Linked DNA regions of Homo sapiens: regions 2 and 3 are each linked to region 1. The links are contacts of gene promoters, found by promoter capture Hi-C in human tissues and cell types (Jung and others, 2019). All regions are on one chromosome and are shown on one strand. The core of a region is centred on a gene start or on the middle of the fragment in contact, and the rest is flanking DNA. Distances in the headings are between cores, read along the strand shown. Region 1 holds the start of DLGAP1 (DLG associated protein 1). Region 2 overlaps DLGAP1 (DLG associated protein 1). Region 3 has its middle 91 kb from the start of DLGAP1.

Region 1 (4,912 bases), core at 733-3,232:
GATTTGATCATTATGCATTGTATATATATACCAAATTATTGTATCTACCTGCAAAATATGTGCAACTGTGATATATCAATTTAAAAATTAGAAAAGAAAATCTATTAATTAAACATATTTACAAATCTGGAAAGGCAAATTTTCCAAATTATGAAGGCTATTATCACATATCAGTATTTTGCCTTTTCAGGGAATCCGATTTGAAGTGTCCCTATAATAATTCTTTTTTTTTTTTTTTTTTGAGAGTCTCGCTCTGTCACCCCGGCTGGAGTGCAGTGGTGTGATCTCGGCTCACTGCAATCTCCACCTCCCGGGTTCAAGTGATTCTTATGTCTCAGCCTCCAGAGTAGCTGGGATTACAGGCGCCCACCACCAACCCAGCTAACTTTTGAATTTTTAGTAGAGATGGGTTTTCACCATGTTGGCCAGGCTGGTCTTGAACTCCTGACCTCAAGTGATCTGCCCATCTCGGCCTCCCAAAGTGCCAGGATTAGAGGTGTGAGCCACTGAGCTGGGCCCCTATAGTAATTCTTGAATTGTCTGAGAATATCTTTTAGATCATTGCTAAAGCGTCGGTGCTCATGATATTACAATGCTGAGAATTTACCTCCATTTAGTGGTTTCAGTAATTGTTATTTTCTTTAATGGAAAATCACTCAGTGAAATTGCAGGAAAGAGGTTATTTATCTGAGTCATATTTTTATGAAAACTGTTTTTCACTTCCTTGCATTTTTAGAAGTGTTGTCTTTAAAAGGATATTCTATTAATATTTATAATTAGACATCACACAAAACAGATGCTAAATCTTATGCTATAACTTCTGGATAAAATTACATAAAGATTATGTACTTTTTGGCATAATATTCCCTCAGGAAGCTGTAGAACAAAGGACATTCTCCATGAAGATGCCATTTCTTTTTTTAATAGAAGGAAATAATAAGGCAGTGATTAACCACGATTATTTTAACTACTGTAACGTTTGCAATTAAGTGGGCAGCGCAGGAGCTCAATAAATACTTAATTGATTTACTTTTTTCTCTCCTTGACCCACATCGCAATTCACCCACTCACGCCGCTATCCCTATTCTAACTTTGAAACCAAGTGGATTCTCTCTGTTTTCAGTTTGTGGAAGCGTGGTGCTCAGCCTGTGTGGAGGGGCCTGGCTTCCAAGTGTACTTGGGGTGGAACCTGGGGACTTTACCGAGGGCACAGGTCAGGAGATGAGATTCGTTTCGCTTTTTGAATTACCTTTTGGCCTGTACCAAGATGAACTGGTGGGATATATAGTGTCATCGAACCCGGGAGAGTTGTTGTGGAGGTGAGGAAACAGCTCTGAGGGATAACGGTTTGAAAGTAGTGGCGCTGGGGACGAACATGGGTCCCTGCGAGTCTGAGACTCTCTATTGCCCCCATCTCCTTGCTGCCGATTACTTCTTCAAAAATTCTCCTAGGGACCCTGAGGAGGGACGGGAGAGGTCAGCAAACCCTCTGTCCACCAACTTGATTTCCTGTGATACAAAGTGTCATGAGTTCTCCTGCTTTCCTCCCTTAAAAAAGACAAGATTAGGAACAACGGCTGGCAAGAGAGGAGGGGAAAGCTTAATTCTCCACAGATGCTGCGCAAGGGAACCAATGGGTCACGCCCACTCACGGGTGGCCGCCTCTCTGTTCCATCCCGGGGATGTTGGGCTTTCCCCTCGGTCCGGGGCGAGCGCACTTCCCACCCGGAGACTGAGCGGGCAGCACTCGCAGGCCAGGAGCGCGTTCCGGGAGGCGCCGGCGCCTCCCCGCGGCCTGGGCGCACGTGCCTGGGCTGGGGCCGGAGCCCGCGGTCGCGCCGCGCCGTAGTAGCTGGGGCGGGTGGGAGCGGCTGGCTCCGGGCCGCGGCCGCCGCCCGCCCGCCGGCTCCGGTGGTTGGGCGGAGGAAGCGCGGGACTCCTCCTCCCCACCGTATTAACATGCACCCAGGGGCGGGTCACCAGCCCAGCCTTGCAGCCCCAGCCCGCCGCGTCCCGGCGCTCAGCCTCCGCTCCAGAGGCGAGCGCTGCGCTTCGGGCGCCGCAATCTCCAGGACACGGCCTCGCGGACACCTTCCGCCTCGGGGAATCGGCAGCATAGGCGGCGCGAACGGCCGCCGCCGCCTCGGCTCCTCTCTCGAGTCCTTCCCGTCACCTCGCTGAGAGCCGGTCCTGGTCGCGGGGACATCTCTCTCCTTCCTCCGAGGCTCGTGGGACCAACGGACGGACGCAGCCAGCGAGGGCCGGACTGCGGGACGCGGCCAGGTAACGCCGGGCTGCGCCGCGGGGCTGGGGCGTGCGCGGCGGCGGCGGTCGCGGCGCGCTGGGTGGCTCCTGGCTGCTGCCTGCCGCGCGGTCGCCGCTTCCCTCGCCCGCGGAGGGGCTGCGGGCTGGGCTCCCCCGGCCGCTGGCTCGAGAGTCCGCGCTCCTTACCCTTTCAGCCGCCCGGGGTGCACTCCCGGGCCCTCCGGGTAACCTGGGATCTCGGGGGCGAGCGCGTCCTCTCCGGCCATGCGGTCCTCGCGGCTCCCCACGGGGACCCAGGCAGGGGAAGGATTTCTAATTGCGACAGGGTCCCGGAAGGGGGAGGGGAGGAGAACACCGGTCCCCTGTCCCGGTCATGTCCACCGGTCAAATTCGCACCCCCACCCCACCCCCGATGCACCTTGCAGGGGAGGAGGGGGCTGCTCCCCGCAGGGCTTTCTCGGCAGGCTCCTGGGTCGTTTGCAAAGCAAGTTGTTGCACTAGCTTTTTGGGTGACATTTTGGCATTGTGGAAAAGGACCAACTCCCCCGTGCGTTTGTAAGAGAAAGCCAAAGAAACAGAGACACAAAGACAGGCACAGAGAGAGAGAGAGAGAGAGAAATGGGGTCCAAGGAGGAGGTCACTGGAGAGTCGCCCCCTGCCCGCGGCCAAGGCCAATTCCCGGAGAATCGCGGGGCGGGCCGGGAGACCCGACATTCAGCGAATTGAATGAGCCGGGCTGGAACCAAGGCCAAACAGGGACCTCTCCTCTGGGCTGGGCGAGATAACACATTGCACTTTCATTGAGGGGCGGCTGCAGCTGGGAGAGGCACCTTCGGAGGGCCCGCGGCGATGAAGACCCTGCTTTCAGGACTTCGGCTGCTGCGCTTTTTGCGGAAGGCGCGCTGTCCCGGCCTCGCTGGGTGGCACCGGGAGGCCGTGGGAAGGGGTGGCCCGTGGCTCGGCTGCCGGCGCCGGAGACACTGAGTGCCTGTGTCCGAGTGCCGCGCTCGCCCCCGGCTGCAGGGCTTGCCTCCAGCCCGACCGTAGCGCTGCGGAATTTTCTGCTAGAGAAGGGGAGGATGTGCGGAGGGCAAGGGGTTAAAGGTAGCCAGGCGGCAAGCAGTGGGACGCTGGGTGGGAGATGTCACGTCTTTTGTGGATCCAGGCGAGACTCTTCACTCCTTACTCCTGACACAGAGACTGACTCCCGGTCGTGGGAGGTGAATGCTCCCTGCCTCCTTCCATAACACGTGAAGTTAGGGAATTACGAGGAAAGACATATAATAAAAGTACCAATTAAAGACAGATCTTTTAGCTTTTGTGGTCTTCGTGAATGGCTTCGTAGAAGGTGAGGATAGATCAGTCTAAGATGTGGTTAGACATGGAGATGAGAAATGCTGAGAACTAGGAAAGCGATTTTAGGTCCTAAGGCAAACATCCTGCAAATTATTTTTTACCCTGAAAGAGCTGTTCTAAAAAGAACAGCCCTTTGACTGTTATTTATAGCACGATTTCAGTTCAGGAAACGACTTTCTATTGGCCTAGGTCATTTTGCATATAAAGCAATACTTTTTATTCCTTGAATAAAACTTGAACGGAAATGACATGGAGGCAAGAAATTTTACAAGATCCTAATTTATTTCATGCCAGAAGAATATAAAGTTTTCTTTAAGTTTTTAAAAGGAAATTCAAGCCTATAAAGAAATAATGAATATGTCTATGCAAAATGTATGATTTTAAAAAGTTTAAGTTATAAACGCTACCCTTGGTTCAGAAAATTCATACTCTGGCATGAAACAAGAAAGTTCATAGAAGTCAGGTGTCAGTAGCCCTGTTCTTAATTTCCTTTAGATTTAGTACTTAAATGTAAAGTTGTTTCAGTTGGTTAGTGCCTTGCAATACCCCTAGTCGCAGATATAAAATTCTGTGAATTTTTAAAAAACTAATTTACTTAAGAGAAAATGTTAGTTACCTTGTGTGAGTAAAGAAGAATGTACTTGCATACATAGATTTTTTTAAATTTATAGCTATCTATTTCTCTATATTTCATTCTAAGATTAGTCTGCAAATACAATACTTTATCTCAAACATTACAGGCAATATAAATATGGGCAAAAGGAACTGGTTAACATTCTTTTAAATATGTCAAAATAATTTTCTGACAAGGCTTCTTAAATCTCACACAAGCAATTGTGCTTTGGGGAAATAATGAGTATATGAGTTTTCCCTAGGAGGGAATTTTCATGGTTTAGCATCTTTAATTTCTCCATCAACATAAGCTTTGTTCTGCCAGGACTAAAAACCCAGTAAAAGCATATTAGCGATTAGTGAAAGCAAATGGAGACAAGACCTTCCTTCCAAAATATTATGTAGCGCATATAGAGAAATAGCCTAAAACTAATTGTAGTGTTCTACTTTTTAAATCCTTCTAAGCTTAAGTGTCCTATTCAACCCAATTTGGGAATAGAAACTGCATGCACTTTGAGTTAACTCTATTAAATATGTGTGCCTTTGTTCCATATAGCCATTTAGATTGATTTTTTTTAAATATAAAATTAAAACTTGGAAGAGGGGGACTTGTTTTACAAAGTACTCATTTTAGTGAATATGAGCAATATTCACTAATATGCAGCAAAGTAATAGTTTC
Region 2 (4,912 bases), core at 1,527-4,026, 120 kb after region 1:
TGATAAGTATTGCTATTCAATGCTGTATTTTTGTTAAATATTAAATCCATCTTGGATAACTGAGTCTGGAAGATTCAGAGTTCCTTGGCATTGGTTTCAGAGAAATTTTAAGTAAGGAATAATAGAATCTATAATTTTAGGGGTTCTGATGAGGTCAATTAAAATTATGAATATTTCATAATATAATTGGAAACTGGAGTGAGCTCATTATTGTGTGATCAGAAAATACAAATAATTGATAAGTGGCCTCAGTTTGTATAGACTGTATTTTTTACATTTAATTTAATTCTATTTTATTTTATTCTAAGTTCCAGGATACATGTGCAGGATGTGCAGGTTTGTTGCATAGGAAAACATGTGCATGGTGGTTTGCAGCACAGAACAGCACCTTACCTAGGTATTAAGACTCGCATGCATTAACTTTTTGTCTTGATGCTCTCCCTCTGGCTGCCTTCCCAACACACACAAAACAGTGTGTGTTATTCCCCTGTCTGTGTCCATGTGTTCTCGTTGTTCAGCTCCCACTTATAAGTAAGAACATGCAGTGTTTGGTCTTCTGATGAACTGTATTTTTTGACACCAGCAGAAAGTTTGTACATATAGATGAAAACTTGGTCCTGACTTAACTCAGTAGACTGAAAGAGTCAATAATTCATGGGAATGGAGTCAAAACCCAGTTTCATGTGAGTCTAAAGTCAGGACCCTTTAGTTCTTAACTAACCTTCCGCGTACATATTCTAAATGAAATCATTGATCTGCGGTGTGTTAAATGACTATTTTGTCCCCATCAGTTGGACACAGTCTCAGAGCTATATAAATTGGAAAGCACTTGTATAATAAGTTATTTTCAAGGAAATTTTTAATATATGAGCAAATAACGTATTTTTGAAGGTCCGCTATAATAATAGGCCATTTACATTGAATAAATGACTCTGTTAATGTCCTGATCAGTGCCTTGGTGACCTATGAAATTATTCATAGATGATCACATAGGGGAAATAGTTTATTTGCATAATGGAATCTGCAATTATACTTCTCAATCTATGTATAAAGAAACAAGCAGCTCCTTGCTGTAAATTTATTTAATGTCTTATTCATTCACCGTCTGTCGTATTTATCATCTTGCCATACAAAGAATGTACACTCCTCTATTTACCTTTTCATCGTGAACTCCTAGAGAGAACTGTCTATAATCTATTCATCTTGGTATACTTTCTCTGAGCCACAGTTCCTGATAAATAATAGGCACTCAGTACACATTTAGGAAATGAATGCCTGAAGGATCAATATAATCAGGTACATGCCCAGGGTCATTTAACAAACCTGTGTTACAAGGATAATAAAAGGCCTTTGAAAATTTCCCAACTATTGACACTTGGTATGATTGATTTATTTACTCCAGAAGTATTATTGGACATGTACTATGTACTCAGCACCTTTCTGGATTTTGGAAATATCTCAATAAACAAAACTGACAACAATTTTCTACTTTTAGGGATTTTACATTCCAGCTGATAAAACTGTGTCTGGCCAAACTTTTAAATCCTTTAACAGTAAAAATGTAATTTCTTTCCAAGAAATTATTTGTGATCATGATTTGAAAATGGATTGCCTTGACAGTGGAAAATAGATGTACAGTTTCACAAAATACTCAAAGATCTACAAACTGAGACTGATTGGAATTTTTTAATGGATGCTAAAATTAGTGGTAAGATTAGTTTCTACTCAACATCCATTATTATCTTAAATACAGCAGAGAGATAAAAACTATGATTCACTCTGTTTTAAAATATGTGGTGTTTCAAATGCCACTGATAATTTTTTAAAAGCGAAACAGAAGTGAAGGGAAATGTTGAGACAATATGGAAAAAAAATGACCCCTGACAAAGACTTCTGTGAAAAGAACATTGTAAAATACAGCACTGAAATAGCTGAAATTTCATTTCAGCTATGAAAGTATGAAATAAAAAAACTAAAATGGCTCCAGTATAAAAGTAGCGGTTTGATTCAAATATTCCAATACTGCCAGTAATGTTCTCAGTGATGTTTATGAGAAAACTATGACTTTATATATGTATCTATGTATTTTTTTGGTTTCGGCTGGTCAATTATTTTTCTTATTTGTTGGAATTGACAATTGGCTCCCGACACACAACTCTTGAGGAGATTTGTGTGATTTTTATAGAATACTAGAGCTAAAATATTTCTCTCTAAAATGTCATACATTTGTAAATTCTTCTTACAATCTTTTTAAGGATATGAACTATAATTGTTTTAAAAAGCCATCTCTTTGCCGGGCACAGTGGCTCACACCTGTAATCCCAGCACTTTGAAAGGCTGAGGCAGGTGAATCATTTAAAGATCAGTTCCAGACCAGCCTAAGCAGCATGGCGACCCCGTCGCTACAAAAAGTAGGAAAAATTAGCCGGGCGTGGTGGCATGCACCTGTAGTCCCAGCTACTCTGGAAGTTGAGGTGGGGGGATCACCTGAACCTGGGAGGCAGAGGTTACAGTGAACCAAGATTGCGCCACTGCACTCCAACTTGGGTGACAAAGTGAGACCCCATCTCAAAAAAAAAAAAAAAAAAGCCAACTATTGGCCTATCAATGTATCAACTGACCTACTACTACTTTTGCTCTTTTTTTTTTTTTCTTTTTTCTTTTTTTTAAGATGGAGTCTCACTCTGTCGCCCAGGCTGGAGTGCAGTGGCACAATCTCGGCTCACTGCTAGCTCCACCTCCTGGGTTCATGCCATTCTCCTACCTCAGCCTCCGGAGTAGCTGGAACTACAGGCGCCAGCCACCACGCCCGGCTAATTTTTTTTTTTTTTTTTTTTGTATTTTCAGTAGAGACGGGGTTTCACTGTGTTAGCCAGGATGGTCTCGATCTCCTGACCTCGTGATCCGCCTGCCTCTAGATACCGTAATGCTAACATAAACTAGATTAGATCTTATCCTCAAGGAGTTTACACTCTAATAGGAGAGAGACTCAATTCTATAAGCCCCTACAACAAACTAGAAAAGTTTTATTCATTGAAGCTCCTTTGTTCGATACATGTCCATATCAACTGTTAATAGTAAAATGCCATCTATTAATTAAAGTAGAGTGGATGTTAGGCTTTGAATTAGCCACTGACCCAGCCCCTTACATGAGATAAGATTAGATGCCACAGGACCATTTTGATAGAAGGAACAGAAGCTTTGGTGAAGGGTATTTACTGGGAGGACACACTAGTATATTATGTAGGTATGTCACAGGAGCTCATCCTGGCCTAGAAGTAGCCGTTACTCTCCTTAGCTGCCAGCATCTTTGGGCCTCATTGCCTCTCTTTCATTCTTTCTTCAAATTCACTCGTCTATATTTTTCTACCTTCAGACCAGCTTCTTCCACAGTTGTATGTGGTCAGCACAGTGGTCCTCAAAGTGTTGTTTCTACAGACTTTCCAGATCAGCTGTCTAGAGCTAACAGAGTCCACCTCTATGGACCACATTAGATTTCTGGGAATAATATGATTGGTCAACCTGGAATTATTCACTTATAGCCCAATAAGCAGAATTGGAGTTGGAAGAATGGAGTTGTATGGTGCATACGTATCTTTTTCTGTGCCAATGGGCAGCAAAAGTACCTATGAATGGTGTGTGGGTCAGGAGGGCATTGTCGGCACGTGCACTGTAATAGACGTACTGCAGTATGCTAATAGTGATAACAGGCAGATTGGCATTGATAGTGCATTTTGCTGCTTCTTGTGTGATAAACTGAAGCTTGTATTTTGATATATCAATTTGTGCCCCAAATGGCAATGGAAATCAACCAATAGTCTTGTGTTTCTAAATCATAAAAATGTCACAAATAATTCATGGCATGTATTTCATATGCACACTTTAAATACCTGAATATGATAAATTGCTGATAGAATTTTCAATTTCAAAAGCCCAGTAGAGTGCACACTTTTTTTTCTAACGCAGTCTTTCAATTCTGTGACATTGCTGATTGCTCCTTTAAAACACATTTTGCACCAAACATTTTAGAATATTTGATTCCTGAGGACTTAAAACAGGACATATGTAATTTTATTTTTCTTTTTTTACATTCTCAGGTTTAGTGCATAAGCTTGGATGTGAAGCCCTGGAGTTAGCCACTTTGCTTTGAAAGAGGACCTTGTTTCCTCCAGACAGTACTGTCTTATGTTTCCTTCCTTTTCCAGAGCCAGGTGAAACCACAGGACTTCCCATTGCAGTTAAAGTAATCTGCATTTTCAATGACCGGTCAACCTAAAAATTCAAGTCCTGATAAAACAAACTTAAGCAGTATGATGAGGCTTCTTGGCTTTGTGAACTATTAAATTATGTATTCACCAATTTTTATTACTGATACTGTGCAAGGCACTGAGTTAATTCCAGAGGACCTAGGAATGATCCTTGTCTTTTCTCTCGTGTAGTGGATCATGCTGTGGAAGGTGGGAGGGAGGTAAAAAACAGCTTTATGATTGGCTACACTTTTATCATTTAGTCCACTGTTTCTGCTCATTCTTCGGGATGGCTTTGATGCCAACCACATAAATGTCTTTATTTCTATTCTGGACATTCTCACCCATAAGAAATATGCTCCTATTGGGATAATTGTTTATTGCTCAGTCAACTGTTTTTTAATTGGATGAATTAACTGCTCGCTGCCTTATTGTGTCTTTCTGCAGCCATTTGGCCTATAATTCTTAAAGAGAGATTCTTGAACCAAGAATTTGTTTTTAATAGTATTATTGTCACAACACAGCTATTGCATGAAATGATGTATACATTCACATTCAGTGTTAACAATTGTTCAAAGCCAAATGTAAATACTACCAAGCTTGTTAGGATTTCTCTTGGCTTTCTTCACTGTACCTTTTATTTTCTCCAAAGACTTGAAGAACCA
Region 3 (4,912 bases), core at 933-3,432, 91 kb before region 1:
CTGGGCGCGGTGGCTGATGCCTGTAATCCCAGCACTTTGGGAGGCCGAGACGGGTGGATCATGAGGTCAGGAGTTTGAGACCCTCCTGGCCAACATGGTGAAACCCCATCTCTACTAAAAATAAAAAAAAAAAAAAAAAAAAATCAGCTGGGCGTGGTGGCGCATACCTGTAATCTCAGCTACTCGGGAGACTGAGGCAGGAAGATCACTTGAACCAGGGAGTGAGAGGTTGCAGTGAGCCAAGATGGCTCCACTGCACTCCAGCCTGGCGACAGAGCAAGACTCTGTCTCAAAAAAAAAAAAAAAAAAAAAAGGATACAATTTTTCTTTCAATATCTATGCATAATTTTTATACTTAATGTGATTTCTGAATATTTGGACTCGTGTCAATTATCACTTTTTTCTATTTGCCATCTTCTATTGTACTTTGAATTTCTCATTTTTTTTCCTTCTTGGCATCTATTATACGTTGAACTTTCTCAAAAAAATACTCTTTCATTACACTTTTTTGATTAAATATTATAAATAGTATTGAACACTTCTGCCCTTATGTTTTTGTCTTTTAAAAATCTAAACTTGTTCACTGTTATCTCCCGTACCAGCTTGAAAAGATGCTTATAATGCTTTAACACTCCTCTCCCATCGTCTCATTCCTCTATAAGCTTTAAATCCTTATTTTTAAATATAAGTTTTTGCATAAGGTCAATAGTTAATGAAATGTGCTAGCACTTAATCAATTTTGGAATGTTCATTTATTTGTTGAATCCCACAGCTTCCTTCTTTGTTCAGTTTTCTTCATGCTGAAATATATGCACTTAATAGTTCTTTTAATGAGACTCTGTGTGGGTGGTAAATTCTTCTGGTAATTGTAAGCATAAACATTATTTTTTTCTTCCCTCACAGATAATAGTTTATCTGTGTATATGGCTTACAGTTACTTTCCTTTGGCATTTTAAATATATTATTCCATTGTCTTCTAGCATCTGTTGTTGCCAATGTCTCTTGTTAGTTTAATTGGTCATTCCGTGGTTGGTGATGCATTGGTTCTCTTTAGTGCTTTTTAAGATTTTTCTTTTTATCCTAATGTTCTACAACTTCATGACGATATGCATATGCATTCATTAGTTTTAATTTATTCTGCTAAGTACCTGGAGTATACTTTTGATGTGGAAAATTTTCAGCAATTACTTCTTCAAGTTTTATTGCTCGGACATTTGCTACATTCTGCTTTTATCAAACTCTTATTCCATGAGGGTTGGAGCCTCACTATGTATTTATACTGTTTTTCAGGTGATTTTTTTAAAACTTTTGTTTCTTTTGGTTTACCATAGTCTTTCTGTGGCACATGCTGGTCAGCTTTCTCAATACTGTTTTCTAATCGACCAACCCGTTCTTAGACTCTGTTCAGTATAGAGTTTACATAGCACACTGCCGTTTTTTGGCTACTTTCGGGAAAACCCAGGGCTTTTGCCTCATTCGTTTTTTGGATATTTCCATTCCAATCATATTCAGAAGATATTTATCTTTTTGAGTCTAAAAATAATCCTTTTGGCTTAAACATTGACTATACTTGTGGTTATTGCTTTGTGTTTGAAGCAGAGGGGATGATTAGAGAATGAACTAAGCACATCAGTTTTTCAGTACATCTCATAATTGTTTTTTAAAATCATATGCTATAAAAACTTGGTTAAATATTTAGCATTCTACAGTATAAATGTACATTATCTACATATCCTTGCCTACAAGAGCCAGAACAAGTTATTTGAAATGCCTAGATAAATATTGAATGTAAAGCCACAAACATCTTAAAACATATGGAGATAAAGTTATTAAAATACCTAATCCATTCATTTCAACAGCTGTCATAATGAGTCATTACAGTAAACATCACAGTAAAAATGAGTACTTAATTTTCTATTTTGTTCACGTTCCTTTTTTATAATATTAGAAACATTCAGAAAACAAGATTAAGTTTCTAGAATTTAACAACTACTTCTAAAATTGCTTTAGTGCCTATAGATTGTTGTCTCTCCTCTTTATCACATTTTATTATAGAATAACTTGTTATTTTTTAAGGGGCATCTTTTGGTATATATAAGTTATTACAAATCCATTGGTTTTTCAAAGATTGAAGCTCTATCACTGTAACTTTTTGCTAATGATTGCTGCCTGACAATGTAAAACTGACAACTTTATTTTTTAACAGTGGAGGTTGCTATTTATTTGCACTACATCATATAGTTACTGGCAAGCACAAGACAATTTTTTAAATGACCTATCAAGTCAAGGAAGGGAAGCGATTGAAGTACAAAACTTTGCTTTCTTGATATTTAAATTTCAATAAAATTGTATCATTAACATTACTCTCAGTTTTTGTAGTCAATCTTTCTGAATCAGGAAAGGGAAAAGAAAGAACGTTAACAAATCCTTAAAACTCTTTGCTTCATGGAGTTGAGAGAAATCACTAGTAATCCCCTAACTGGCAATAAGCAATGGTAATCTTACTTTAGAGTTACCACCTTGATGAGTAATATGTGGCCCTTAGAACAGGTTAGTAGTTCAGTAAAAATCATGTTGTCAGCCATAAAATGGTCATTTGTTCATTCATTTATTCATTTACATATATCTATTGGGTGGTGATTACATACCTAGCACTGTGCTAAGTACTAGGAACTACAAGGGTGAACAGAACAGACTCCAAATTTCTTCCCTCACAGAGGTTACAGGCCAGTAGGAGAAACATATTAGATAAATCATCTCATAAATGATTATGCAGTTAGTATTGATATGAGCAATGATGGAATAAATATAGGGAGTAACTAAGGGAGGCTGTCACATCCTTGAGGACTTGAACTAGATAAGATGAAATGAGATGAGTAATAGCCAGGGAAAGGAGTAAGAGAGCCAATGGTAGCATTATAAGGAGAAGACTGAAATCAACAAAAGCCATGGGTGACAAGTGCTGGGTGCAATGGATATCAGAGGTGTGGAAAGGGCAGGAGCCTTAGAAAGGAGGCCAAAACGGTGAGCTTGAGGCTAGAGACACACCAGGTTGCATAGATCTCCATGGTTCATTTTAATGATTTTGAACTTATTCAATATACCATGTTACGGAATGGGCTGTCAATCACAGCCCTCCATGCCAGTACAGCAGTTTCCCTTTAATCTAATGGGATATACCCAAGGTCCCCAGTGGATGCCTGAAACCATGAATAGAACCAAATTCTATACAATAAGTCCTCAAGAGTTACAATAAAGTCATTGATATGTTTTTGGAAACTGCAACTTTAAGCAAAATGAGGTATTATGAAACCAATTTTATCATGGGCTAATTAATATAAACAAGAGTTAAGTTCCTAGGTCATATTTCTGGTCACAAAAACATCACCAAACTTCTAAATAAAGAGCAAAACACTTCTAATATTAAACATTGAAGTAACTGCCTATACTTACATTTAAGAAAAACTAATAAAAACAAGCTGGGCATGATGGCACATGTCTGTGGTCCCAGCAACTGCAGTGGCTGAGATGGGAGGATTCCTTGAGCCCAGGAAGTCGAAGCTTCAGTAAACTATGATTGTGCTGACAGAGTATGACTCCATGTCTAAGATAATAATAATAACAAAAACTAAGAAAATTACCGAATTTTTGGTGAATCAGTGTGTGACATTGGTCGTGGTGGTGGGTTAAATCAAGGAAGAATTGTCTGCAGAGTGAAAATTGCAAGGAGCACCTCCTTCTACCACGCATTTCAAAAACAAAATCCAACACATACGGCCGGTTCGAGGAGAGCTTTCCTACTGCATTGTTTATTGTTCTGCATTTGTATGATTATTGTAGATGAGGAATTTTTATCTTGCAATAATTTGTATTCATCCATTCATTTCCAACCTGCTTTTCCCAGTTGGTGTCTCCATGTGGCCGGAGTCTGTCCCGGGAGCTCAGGGCACAAGGCAGGAGCCAGCCCTGGACGGGATGCCATCACATCACAGGGCACACTCACGCCCATATTCACTCACATGGGGACCATGTAGACATGCCAGTGAACCGAATGAACCAGCTCTGGGATGTGAAAGGGAGTTAGACTACCCAGAAAACCCATGTAGATGTGGGGAGAAAGGCTCCACACAGATGGTGGCCCCAGCCAGGAATCCTTTTTTTTTTTTTTTCTCAGCAACATCAAATAACAAAACGACATTGAATGAAACATTATTTGAGGGCCTGCTGTGTATACATATATATTTTTTTGATCTGATAACTGAGAGGGCAACTAAGTGACTACGGGTGGGGAGCGTAGACCACGTGGGTAGGCTGGACAAAGGATGATTCACATCCCAGTAGGACACAGCAGGATGGCACGAGATTGCATCACGCTACTCAGAGCTGCAAGGCAGTTGAAAACTTATGAATGGTTTACTTCTGGAATTTTCATTTACTGTTTTTGGAATGCTATTGACCTTGGGTAAATAAAGCCACAGAAAGTGAAACTGTGGATAATGGGGAGCCATAGTTCCCAATCCTGACCAATCACACAAATCACTTGTGGATTCTTCAACTTTATGCATTTCAGAACACAGAATAAATTCATCCTGAGATAAGGAAGAGCTTTCTGGCTCAGAGGTTCTCCATGTTTTTTCTTTTGCCAAATTCAGCATCCACTTGTGGGTATTGCAGTCCACTACCTTGCTCCCTTCCAAATTCTTGGTTACTAAGCAACCCAAGGAATAAGATGCTTCTTTAGTTAACAGTAACTTCTCCATTGCATTTTTAATACTTAGCATCTTCTAATATACAACATTTCCAGTTTCACTATTTGCTTTCCAACCCTGTTTCAAACAGCATGTCTGAAAATTCTTACCACTTGCTAATTACATACATAATTTCATTTTTTACTGATGTATATGCAAAAAAT

Evidence for each region. Contacts are between HindIII fragments. The study calls those that stand out against the background at their distance.
Region 2: a fragment that was not itself captured here is called in contact with the fragment with the promoter of DLGAP1 in region 1 in 3 of the 25 tissues and cell types used here (dorsolateral prefrontal cortex, lymphoblastoid cells and spleen).
Region 3: a contact is called between a fragment that was not itself captured here and the fragment with the promoter of DLGAP1 in region 1, in 2 of the 25 tissues and cell types used here (dorsolateral prefrontal cortex and spleen).

What each region holds. Positions count from the first base shown.
Region 1 is chr18:4,452,377-4,457,288 of GRCh38, reverse strand. It overlaps DLGAP1 (DLG associated protein 1), which reads left to right and starts at 1,982. Exons shown (of 13, transcript NM_004746.4): 1 at 1,982-2,283. RefSeq lists a silencer at 1,833-1,962. The HindIII fragment of the contact is 8,504 bases long and covers 588-4,912 here.
Region 2 is chr18:4,334,870-4,339,781 of GRCh38, reverse strand. The region is part of intron 1 of DLGAP1 (DLG associated protein 1); the gene reads left to right. Among named protein-coding and RNA genes, the nearest start is that of DLGAP1-AS5, 73 kb to the right of the region's middle. The HindIII fragment of the contact is 7,157 bases long and covers 1-4,912 here.
Region 3 is chr18:4,543,795-4,548,706 of GRCh38, reverse strand. No RefSeq gene overlaps it. Among named protein-coding and RNA genes, the nearest start is that of DLGAP1, 91 kb to the right of the region's middle. The HindIII fragment of the contact is 4,768 bases long and covers 1-4,566 here.